3 separate regions of the Homo sapiens genome follow, and all the other regions are linked to region 1. Evidence: promoter capture Hi-C in 16 types of primary human blood cells and fetal thymus (Javierre and others, 2016). All regions are on one chromosome and are shown on one strand. The core of a region is centred on a gene start or on the middle of the fragment in contact, and the rest is flanking DNA. Distances in the headings are between cores, read along the strand shown.

Region 1 (3,593 bases), core at 743-3,242:
AGACCTCATCTCTATACAGTTTTTTTTTTTTTTTTTTTTTTTTTTTTGAGACAGAGTCTCCCTCTGTCACCCAGGCTGGAGTGCAGTGGTGTGATCTCGGCTCACTGCAACCTCCGCCTCCCAGGTTCAAACAATTCTCCTGCCTCAGCCTCCTGAGTAGCTGGGATTACAGGCACGTGCCACCACACCCAGCTAATTTTTGTAATTTTAGTAGAGACGGGGTTTCATCATGTTGGTCAGGCTGGTCTCGAACTCCTGACCTCGTGATCCGCCCGCCTTGGCCTCCCAAAGTGCTGGGATTACAGACGTGAGCCACTGCGCCCAGCCTAAAAAAATTTTTAAAATTAGCCAGACGTGGTGGTGTGTGCCTGTAGTCCCAAATACTCGGGAGGCTGAAGTGGAAGGACTGCTTCAGCCCAGGAGGTCATGGCTGCAGTGGGCTGTAATCGTGCCACCACACTTCACCCTGGGCGATGGGCAAGACGCTGTCTCAAAAAAATAAAGTCCCCAGCTAAAAAAGAAAGGATGTTATTTTAAAAAGCGTAATTTATGAAAACACTTACCCTGACCATCCTCTTTGAATACCAGTTCTCTTTTTTCAGATTCATTCTCATTCTTACCCCTGCGTCTGTTTTTACCTCCTTTACCTGATGGTTTAAAAAAAAGAAAAGGAGGTAAATGACATTAATTATCTGTAAAACAGTATGAAATAAAATGAAATTAAGGCTTATAAAACCATTTTTTAAAAGATCACTTAAATTAAAAAATTCATCTATTTTAGCTACACAATCATATTAAATTTACAATCTCCAATCCCAACATTAACACATTATCACCTCCCTACCCTTCTTGGAATTTCCTTTGGGGATTTTTCTGACATAAAATACACATAAATAGCAGATATTATGTTAAAAAATATAGAAAAACATTTCACTTTAGCACCCATCCTTTTGAAATAAAAATGCAATTCTATACATATTCTTCTAAGCGGAAATCTTGGGTGTCTTCTAAAGCCAGGCCCTATGCAAGGAACCCGATACTTTCAAAATTAAGTGAAGACAGTGTCTGGACAGAGAACTGTGGTTTTCAAACTTTTGGTAGCAGAGTACCATAAATATTGAAATCTCACTGGGTGCAGTGGTGTGCGCCTAGGGTCTCAGCTACTCAGGAGGCTCAGGTGGGAGGATCACTTGAGCAAGCCCAGGAGGTTCCAGGCTAGCCTGGGCAACATAGCGAGACACTGTCTCTTAAAAAATAAAGAAGATCTGTTCGGTACCCAATTTACTTTCTTTTATAATGCTGGTCCCTACTCAACATCCCTGTTTCTATTATATGACCCCAGTGACCATGCTCTTAACCACTATGCAATAATTCTGCCCATTTACTTGTCACAATCACCCCATGAGGTCATAACATTCATTTATTCCCAGTTTACCCATGAGTTCCCTGAAGCTCAGAGAAGTTAAGTAAGTCGCTTAGCTTCAGTGAGTAAATCAGTTCACTGATTACAGTCAGTAAGCTGGGGTGACCAAAGTCACAATGTTTTTTTTGCCCCTAGCCCCCACATAAGCTTACCTCTCCACAGCATTTTGCTCCCATTCCAGAAAGGAAACCACATTGGCAGCCATTTCCAAAAGGCAGGAAAAAGGCTGTAAGTGGTAATGACCCTAAGAGACTCATGGGAAGAGCTTGGAAGCAGCAAAAAAAAATGGAGGACACTTAAATTAGGTCATGAAAAGTACCATTCCTCTAAGTAAGATAACTAAGAACTGATTGGTTTCAGACAGTACAGGAATGATAAACACCAAACTCAGCCTGGTGATTACCTCCAAAAAGAGAGTAAAAGGTGATTAGGGCTTTACCTCAATCTGCGCTGTAATTCTTAAATTCAGAGTAATGGGTTCCCAGGTATATCATGTTAGCTGTATTTTTTGTATGCCTCAAATGTTATTTAAGAAAAGACTAATTACTTGTCAATTTACCAGAATTAACCATACCCGGATCACTCCCCTTTGTATTTTATTGCCATGTAATGGGATGTTCTTTAAATTCTCTGTTGAATGAATGAGACTAGGTCTGAGTGTACAACAATTAAAGTGACATCAACATTCTTTAAACCAGAGTTGTTTTGGAGAAATTCCCAGAGAGGCTCTTTCTTAAGACATGAGGCTAGGGAACTAGATGTGATTTAGTGTAGAAGTCCTATCCCCTTGGAACCAAAGCAGAACCTATTATTCACTAAGGGTGGAGTCGACAGGAGGTAGGTGACTTAAACCAACAAATATTTATTAAGCATCTACTAATTGTCAAGTGCTGGCAATCCAATGAGATTAAGACAGATACTATTCCTGCCTTGTAGAGCTTACAGCCTGGTGGAAGAATTGGAAATCTTATTACTAGAAATAAAGGTGAGAATAAGATGGAAGTGATCCCCTTACCACCTCAGAGAGAATAAAGGATTATACAGAAGAAAACTGTAAGACTTTAAAATTTTTTGTTTATAACTCCATCTTTTCCAAAATAATGAGCAGTGACTGCACCAACTTGTGCACAGAACACCTCGACCAAGTACCCTAAGGGATAAAGTAATAAGTGACAGCTACAAAGAGGAAATGTGGTAGAATCCCTGGAGCCAGCTGTCAAGTAGAAAAGAGAGCAGAAGTAGGCCTGTGTCAGGGGAGGGTTTCCTCTAGAATGAATAATCAAAGGAGACTACTTACGGACTATGAAGTATGCTCCTCTCCTGTAGGAAAATACAGTATTTTCCCTATATTTACTTGCACAATTTTCTTCAAGTTATACGGCTATTAAAAATGACAGGAACACTGTAAATCTATAAAAGTAATTTCTTTAGGAGTGTTCTGTTTTTTGTTTTTGTTTTTTTTTTTTTAAGATTAGGCCTTCCGTTTTGGAAATCCCAAATAAAGTTATCCTCAAGTCTGATCATTTGTGAACGCTTAGCCTCAGAATGGAGGACACTTAAATTAGGTCTTTATTCTCACAACATATGCATCATCTGAAGCAAAAGTAGAAAACTTGGCTCAATATGGAATAAGTCTTCAGCAAACAAACATAAGCTATATCCTGTAAAGGGATGGAGAGAGTAAATCTCTAGAGGTGAGCCTTAGAAATGTATCAAGGTTTCACCCACTGTTCACAAGGGACAGCGAGTAGCCTCAACAATACTGAACTGTCCATAAAGAAACCCATGCAGGAGTACCTGGTGCTCACGAATGCAGACAGCACTCTGAAAGTTCAGAACGGCTTCCAGGGATTATAACCCCTCATGCCCGGGAAGGCCAAAGGGGCCTATCTACTAAACCTAGGCCGCCCCGGGGAAGGTTCCCGCCACCGTCCCCACCGAGCAGCGGTCAGTCTGGCGCGAATCAGGAGCAAAAGCCCACATTCTCCCGCAGGAGGCCCTACAAAAATGGCGCCGGCTCCACCCCAATGTGACCAAACTGGGCAACAGGAGTTAACTTCCCAGCTCCTCTCCCGAGCTCAGAGTCGCGTGTGGGGCGCCCAGCCGCGGGCAGGCAGGGCGGGAAGGAAAAAGGGTCACTGCGGCCTGGGTGACCTGCAATCTACGGGCA
Region 2 (3,593 bases), core at 304-2,803, 1.7 Mb before region 1:
ACATAGCGGAATTTAAAGGATCATAACTGCAAATGATATAAATTACCTTGTGTTTGTGGCTTAAATTTTATTTTCATTTGATCTTTTTTAAACCAGCAAATAAAATACAACATTCTTGGTGATATGTTGGGAATGCAGGGAAAATAAATGAAGGTAAAAGTAATGTAATTATTGTGCAAGAAAAAGTTACTTTCAAATGTAAGAGCACAGGGAAACAATTGGTTTTCTTGATTTTAAGCTAATGACATTGTGCATTTTGTTGTTTGGACCTCTAATCCCCCTTGACAGATCCATGCCTAATGCGCGTGTCGTAGAGCAGGCTTCATCAAATTTAGGTATTTAGACACTGTGTCTACTTCAGACTGGATTGTGATGGGATTTGCAAACAGCTTAACATGCAAGGTACTGTAACTGCCTTTTCCTGCCTGCATCATTTTCTTCTTAGTTACCTTCTAGGGTGGGCTGAGGAGTAAGGCCAGCTTAGGAACGGGAAGTCTCATCAGCACAGGCTGATCCCCACTTGTGCAGGTTTCCTCCTTTGCTCAGTGTATTGCTTGGGTAGACGGACACTGCTTAGGGATGTTATTTTTTTGGGTACATATAGGAGAGGAATGTAATGGTTTGGTTAGAAGTAAAGTGTTTTGGAAAATGTATCTAATTTTCTTTGCTTTTAGATGAACATTTCTCTATGGAAAGTGACCCTTATATGTACCAGGCAGGTAAATCAATAACTCCTTGTGTGGTTGGTTGTGTCTGGATTTTTAATGGCAAACAGGTTAGACACACGGCACTGGTCTGATATTAATATTTTACTGTCAGTTCAATCGTAACTGGTTTGAAATAGGCATAGGTAACATGAAGTGCCAGTGTAACTTGATTTTGATAGTAAGAACAACTTTGGTTTCTGGAAATTAACAAAACATATATAAATAATATATATTGTTTAAAAGGATTATGTTATTTTAGGTAAGTTGCAATTTTAGATATCAGTTTTAAACTGTGTATTTTGTATTATGGGCCAGGCATGGTGGCTCATGCCTGTAATCCCAGCACTTTGGGAGGCCAAGGTGGGCGGATCCCTTGAGGTCAGGAGTTCGAGACCAGCCTGGACAACAAGGTGAAACCCTCTCTCTACAAAAAATACAAAAATTAGCTGAGTGTGGTGGCACGCACCTGTAATCCCAGCTACTCAGGAGGCTGAGTCGGGAGAGTCCCATGAACCTGGGAGGCAGGGGTTGCAGTGAGCCAAGGTCGCACCACTGTACTCCAGCCTGGGCCACAGAGTGAGACTCTATCTCAAAAAGGAAGAAAAAGATTTTGTATTATGTTTAAAGATTAGGTTCTTGGAAGTATGAGATTGTATTTTGATAATTAAAGTAAACATATACAGTCTCATGAGGAAGATATGACAGATAAAAAAAGGTGGTGAGTAATAGTTGAAGAACAACTTACTGACCCGGATTTACCTGATTACCCTGACATTGCTGATTTTAGAAACTAATTTCCTGATGAGTAGAATCTTTCAAAGATTACCAGAGGCTGGGTCAGATGTGACATATCCTAGAATTTATCCACACCCTCAGACACACACCCCACCAAGGTTTGTCAGCCGCTTATGGGATATATTAACTTTAATTGCTAGTAATTATTATTCCTAATATTACCACTAAATTCAAGTTTAGCAATGCAAATGAAAAGAAAAAATTTGATTTTAATTGTACTTACTGAAAATAGTTGGGGTAGACAAAAGCTAATTTTGTGCAAATAATTATTTTATACTTTATCAATTATTTATTTCTCAAATAACCTGTCCTACATCCTGAGGATCTGTCCTTCATTCATTTAACAAATATTACTTAATGATTCTGTATTGTGTGCCAGACTTTGCTGGAGACTACATGGAGTGATAAAATGTAAGTAGGCCCTGCCCTCAAAAAATTAATTAATTAATTTTTGAGACAGAATCTCACTCTGTCTCCCAGGCTGGAGTGCAGTGGTGCGATCTTGGCTCACTGCCACCTCCGCCTCTTGGGTTCAAGCGATTTTTGTGCTTCAGCCTCCCAAGTAGCTGGGACTACAGGTGCGTGCCTCCACACCTGGCTAATTTTTGTATTTTCAGTAGAGACGGGGTTTCACTATGTTGGCCAGGCTGATTTCGAACTCCTGACCTCAAGAGATCCACCCACCTTGGCCTCCCAAAGTGCCATGATTACAGGTGTGAGCCGGCCAAAGAATTTAGTCTTGAGATGGAGGCAGAGGAGAACTGCAGAACACTATGGGAGTGTACTTGACCCTTGAACAAGGTAGGGGTTAGGGTGCTGACCCTCACGCAGTCAAAAATCCAAGTATAACTTTTGACCCCCCCAAAAACTTAACTACTAAAATGGCCTACTGTTGACTGGAAGCCTTATTGGTAATATAAATAGTCAATTAACACATTGTTTTGTATGTTATATGTATTATGTAGTATATTCCTACAGTAAAGTAAGCCAGAGAAGAAAATGTTATTAAAATCATAGGAAGAGAAAAGATACTTACTATTCATTAAGAGGAAGTGGATCATTATAAATGTGCTCATCGTCTTCACATTGAGTAGGCTGAGGAGGAAGAGGGAGGGGTTGTCTTGCTGTCTCAGCAGGGGCAGAGGTGGAAGAGGTAGAGAAGGTGGAAGGGGAGGCAGGAGAGGGAGGCACACTCAGTGTAATTTATATTGAAAAAAAATCTGGGTATAAGTAGATCCATGCAGTTCAAACCTGTGTTGTTCAAGGGTCAACTGTATGTAACAGGGTAGGGTTGGAGAGTCTGTCCTTGGGGGAAGAGGTGGGAAGGTCGCTCTGAGGAAGTAACATTTAAGTGAGACCCGAAGAATGAGAAGGACCTGGTCTAGTTGGGGAAATAAGTTTTCCAGACAGAAGGTGCAAATGTGATGAGGCAAGGTGAGAGAGCTGGGGTTTTTGCACAACAGAACCTTTTAAAGAACTGAAAGAGGGCTGGGCATGGTGGCTCACACCTGTAATCCCAGCACTTTGGGAGGCTGAGGCAGGCAGATCACTTGAGCCCAGGAGTTTGAGACCAGCCTGGGCAACATGGCAAAACCCCATTTCTACAAAAATGCAAAATTAGCCAAGTGTGGTGGTATGTGCCTGTAGTCCCAGCTACTCCCAGAGAGTAAGCTGGGAGGATTGCTTGAGCCCAGGAGCTGGAGGCTGCAGTGAGCCGTGATTATGCCACTGCACTCCAGCCTGGGTGACAGCGAGACTCTTGACTCAAAAAAAAAAAAAAAAAAAAAAAAAGAACTGAAAGAAATCTAAAACGACCAGAAAATAGAGAAACAGGCATTGAAGCACAAGTTGGCAGCAGGGGCCAGGTCTTGAAAAGGTTTAGTAGGCCATTTTGCTGGGTTTTTGAACTTGTCCTAAATCTCCTGGGAAACGGTTGAAGATTTTAAGGAGGGGTGTGACATGAAATGAAATGCTACAAAACCCAAGAATTTTAGTTCAATGGAACCTTGGTAATTTACCAGAAAGGTCATAATCTCTGCAAAGTAAAATATTCTTCCCTTGTTTCATTAAAATTTTTGTAACTCCTTTCTT
Region 3 (3,593 bases), core at 711-3,210, 1.1 Mb before region 1:
TTCAACTGGGATCATTCAGTTTGTATTTGATGCTGTAAAGCTTACCTTGTAAGGTATTAAAGATGGCAAACAGATACATGAAGGTCACGTTAACTGGTCCCCAGGCAAAGAAGGCAAAGCCCCAAGTTATTCCCAGTAAAAATGTAAGGCCAGCGATACTCCTGAGGTCTTGAATACTGGTTTTTCGCTGGGCTCCCAGTTGCTTCTTCTTTTTAATTCGACAGAGCTGAACCAGGACCACAATGAACATGCTGACGTTCAGCAAAAATATCACACAGAAATATCCCACCACCGTAATGTAGAATACTGCATTGTTGTTGATCCAGCAGCTGGAGTTTGTGGAGGGGGGGAAACAGGGGAAAACATATTATAGTAATGAACTAGAGTTCAAAATGATACAATGAATCTCTAACATTTTACTGAAACATTTTCTACCAGTACAAGAGAAAAAAAATGATAAAACTGCTATTCTCTACAACCATTTATAGCTCTAGGGAAAATAATCTAAGAGTTTATTTGAGGACACTTGGTGATTTAAAGTATTTTAAAAATAGACCTTTTTTTAAACATTCAGGATTTTGCCCCTGTAAATCCTAGCAACTCTGTTCTATGAGTCTTTATTAATATAACTGGAATGTCATTTTATCAGAGGCTAATGAAAATATTTTCAAAATAGTTCTTCCTAATTCATTTTTCTTTTCAGAATAGCTCCTAATTCATCACTTGAAGAGTAGCATGGCATTTCCAGCTAGCTTCTCTCATTACATATGACTGTGAAGGCTGCTGTGAAGTATTGCTGGGTTTTATTAGGATGATAGCAGGAGTCAATATGCTGATTAGATCCTCCGTTTTCTAGGAGCATTCCGTTTTCCAGTTCACTTAGCATTCCCTTAGGGGGCTTTGTACTCACAAGTCATCCGGTGAACCATTGGGGAATTTCCCATAGGATCCAAGCCCATAGTTATCTGGGGATATAGTCAGGATGATGGTCACAACCACAGCTGGTACCCCTGGAAGATGGGAAACATTGGTCACACCTAATTTTTTTTTTTTTTTTTTTTGAGACGGATTCTTGCTCTGTCACCCAGGCTGGAGTGCAGTGGTGCGATCTCGGCTCACTGCAACCTCCGCCTCCTGGGTTCAAGTGATTCTCCTGCCTCAGCCTCCCTAGTAGCTGGGATTACAGGCGCGTGCCACCATGCCTGGCTAATTTTTGTTTTGTATTTTTCGTAGAGACGGGGTTTCACCATGTTAGCCAGGATGGTCTCGATCTCCTGACCTCGTGATCTGCCCGCCTCGGTCTCCCAAAGTGCTGGGATTGCAGGCGTGAGCCACCGCACCCGGCTGGTCACACCTAGTTCTAATAACCAAAGTGGGTGACAAGACTAGAGATCACATCCTATTTACATCTTGTAGCAGAGACTGGCTAGCTGTTCACCAGGCTGGTTTCTTTTCCTCTTTGGCACATGACTGGATGCTCCCAGCCTCCCAGGCAGCTGGGTGTGTGTGGCCACATGGCTCACTTTGGGCCCATGGGATACGGGCACAAGTGATTTGCTCCACTTCCAGGCCTGCCCCATAGAAACCTCCTGTGAGATCCTCTACTTTCTTTTTGCCTGCAAACTTAGGGCAACCTTGAGGCAGAGTCTTCAATAGCTTGGATCCCTGAATAACTGCAAGACCAGGGACTCCTCTGCCCCTGCTAACTAGACTGTAGGTGAGTGAGAAATGATCTTCTACTGAGATTTCAAGGTGAATCTGTTACAGCTGCCAGTGTTGCCTTTAACTCCCCACCCCCCACCCGGCCCCCCTCTGTCACCCAGGCTAGAGTGCAGTGGCACAATCTCGGCTCACTGCAACCTCCGCCTCCGCCTCCCGGGTTCAAGCGATTCTTGTGCCTCAGCCTCCCAAGTAGCTGGGATTACAGGTGTGCACCACCACACCTGGCTAATTTTTGTATTTTTAGTAGAGACGGGGTTTCACCATGTTGGCTAGGCTGGTCTCGAACTCCTGACCTCAGGTGATCCGCCCACCTCGGCCTCCCAAAGTGCTGGGATTACAGGCATGAGCCACTGCACCCAGCGTTGTGCCTTTAACTTATACATGTCTGGAATGTATATTTAAGAGTCAGCAACTCCTGGCAAATCTTTCATTATGAAACCAAAAGTCCTCAATTTGAAGACTTTGAGACCCAGTGAAGGATGGAGGGTTCTGTCCTGGCTGATCCAGGGGGTGGTGACTGCTACTATGCTGGCTCTGTTGAGAGCCCACGGACACTTCCCTTCAGAGAAGGTACCATGAGAAGGGTCCCCCAAGTTTAAAATGGCTTTTGGTGGGGAAAGAATCCTATTCACCACTGCACACCATCACCCGCCAGCCCCATGCCACCGCCCCACACTCTGCACACTGACCAGCAGACGTCCTATCTCAAGGCTCTGGTAAAGAACAAACAATTCCTTGTCACAGACCAGTTGCAGTGCCTGGTAAAATCAAATCTAATAGTTCATTTAATGCCTTTGCGCTTGTACCTTCTGGTGACCCTGACATATGATAATTTTCTAAGTGAGACACTTTGTTAAAAATAAAACATTGGGGGTGGGGGCCTCATACTTAAGAAAGGAATCTGACTTTCAGCCTTCTCTAAAGAAGACAGAATCCGTGCCCAGTATCTGGAGCGTTGACTTATGTTTCTGGGACAAACAGGGAAAGGGTGTTGTTCTGTTGTTCTTCACAAAGACATAGTGACATAAGATAGAAGGCAGGGTGGCAAGGGTGGTGGTGTGCTTTCAATCTTGATGTGTAGGAATATTTAGCCTGAAAATAGAGGCAGTCTGGTTGGGGGGATGGCAGAAGGCTGCATATAAGGAGACGGAGAGCCAGGCTTGCTGTTTTCTAGCTTTGTGAATTGGGGGGATATCACATCATCACTTGGAGCCAGTTTCTTCACCTACATTTGGGATGACTGCCTGGCTCACCTCACTGGCTTATCTTGCATGGGGTCACTTGTGTGAAAAACAGGGGATTATACACACTGTTATATATTACTTGTAGATTATCTAAAGGACTCTCTGGCAGAAGAGGTATCAACTTACTGTTTTCTGCCTGAGCAAAACCACTGGTAAGTGCCACCAGGGAGCCAACTGAACTTAATGGAAAATCAGAACTGTAGAGCTTTATAAAATGGTTATTGGCTGCCTTGTAAGGTCATGAACTCCCCAGTAATAGAAGTATTCAAGCAGAAGTTAGATTATCTTTAGTCAAGGATAAGTCAGGTGGAGTTGAGGGTTGAAGAGGCTCCTGCATTGGGTGGGAAATTGAATGAAGAAATCTTCAACATATTTGGGGAGCCTAAGGCCTTGCGACCTGCCACCAATAGGCTGCACAATCTGAAATGTCATGCCCACGTGGCAGTGAAGTTACAATGGGTTTTATATGTACATTCTCTCACTCTGCCCTTCTTAGCATACTGTCATACGTGTCTGATATCTGGGAGGTACAAAGTAGAATGAGGCTGGCTGGGAGCTCAGGGACTGAGAGTTTGGGCTCTTTACCACCAAGCTAATGTTTTCAATATATTACCACCCCAAGCTAAT

Evidence for each region. The method cuts DNA at HindIII sites, captures the fragments that hold promoters and counts their contacts. A CHiCAGO score of 5 or more calls a contact.
Region 2: a fragment that was not itself captured here is called in contact with the fragment with the promoter of EIF1AX-AS1 in region 1 in 1 of 17 cell types (neutrophils); the score reaches 5.1 in neutrophils.
Region 3: a contact is called between a fragment that was not itself captured here and the fragment with the promoter of EIF1AX-AS1 in region 1, in 1 of 17 cell types (neutrophils). The highest score is 6.0, in neutrophils.

The regions. Positions count from the first base shown.
Region 1 is chrX:20,137,976-20,141,568 of GRCh38, forward strand. EIF1AX-AS1 (EIF1AX antisense RNA 1) reads left to right here and starts at 1,993. Exons shown (of 2, transcript NR_046592.2): 1 at 1,993-2,260; 2 at 2,360-2,469. It overlaps EIF1AX (eukaryotic translation initiation factor 1A X-linked), which reads right to left. Exons shown (of 7, transcript NM_001412.4): 2 at 564-647. RefSeq lists an enhancer at 3,105-3,264. The HindIII fragment of the contact is 4,524 bases long and covers 1,569-3,593 here.
Region 2 is chrX:18,433,630-18,437,222 of GRCh38, forward strand. All of the region lies in intron 1 of CDKL5 (cyclin dependent kinase like 5), which reads left to right. Among named protein-coding and RNA genes, the nearest start is that of CDKL5, 9.8 kb to the left of the region's middle. The HindIII fragment of the contact is 8,731 bases long and covers 1-3,593 here.
Region 3 is chrX:18,998,951-19,002,543 of GRCh38, forward strand. ADGRG2 (adhesion G protein-coupled receptor G2) reads right to left here. Exons shown (of 29, transcript NM_001079858.3): 25 at 911-1,010; 26 at 46-329. All of the region lies in intron 2 of LOC101928415 (a long non-coding RNA gene), which reads left to right. Among named protein-coding and RNA genes, the nearest start is that of PHKA2, 17 kb to the left of the region's middle. The HindIII fragment of the contact is 3,844 bases long and covers 39-3,593 here.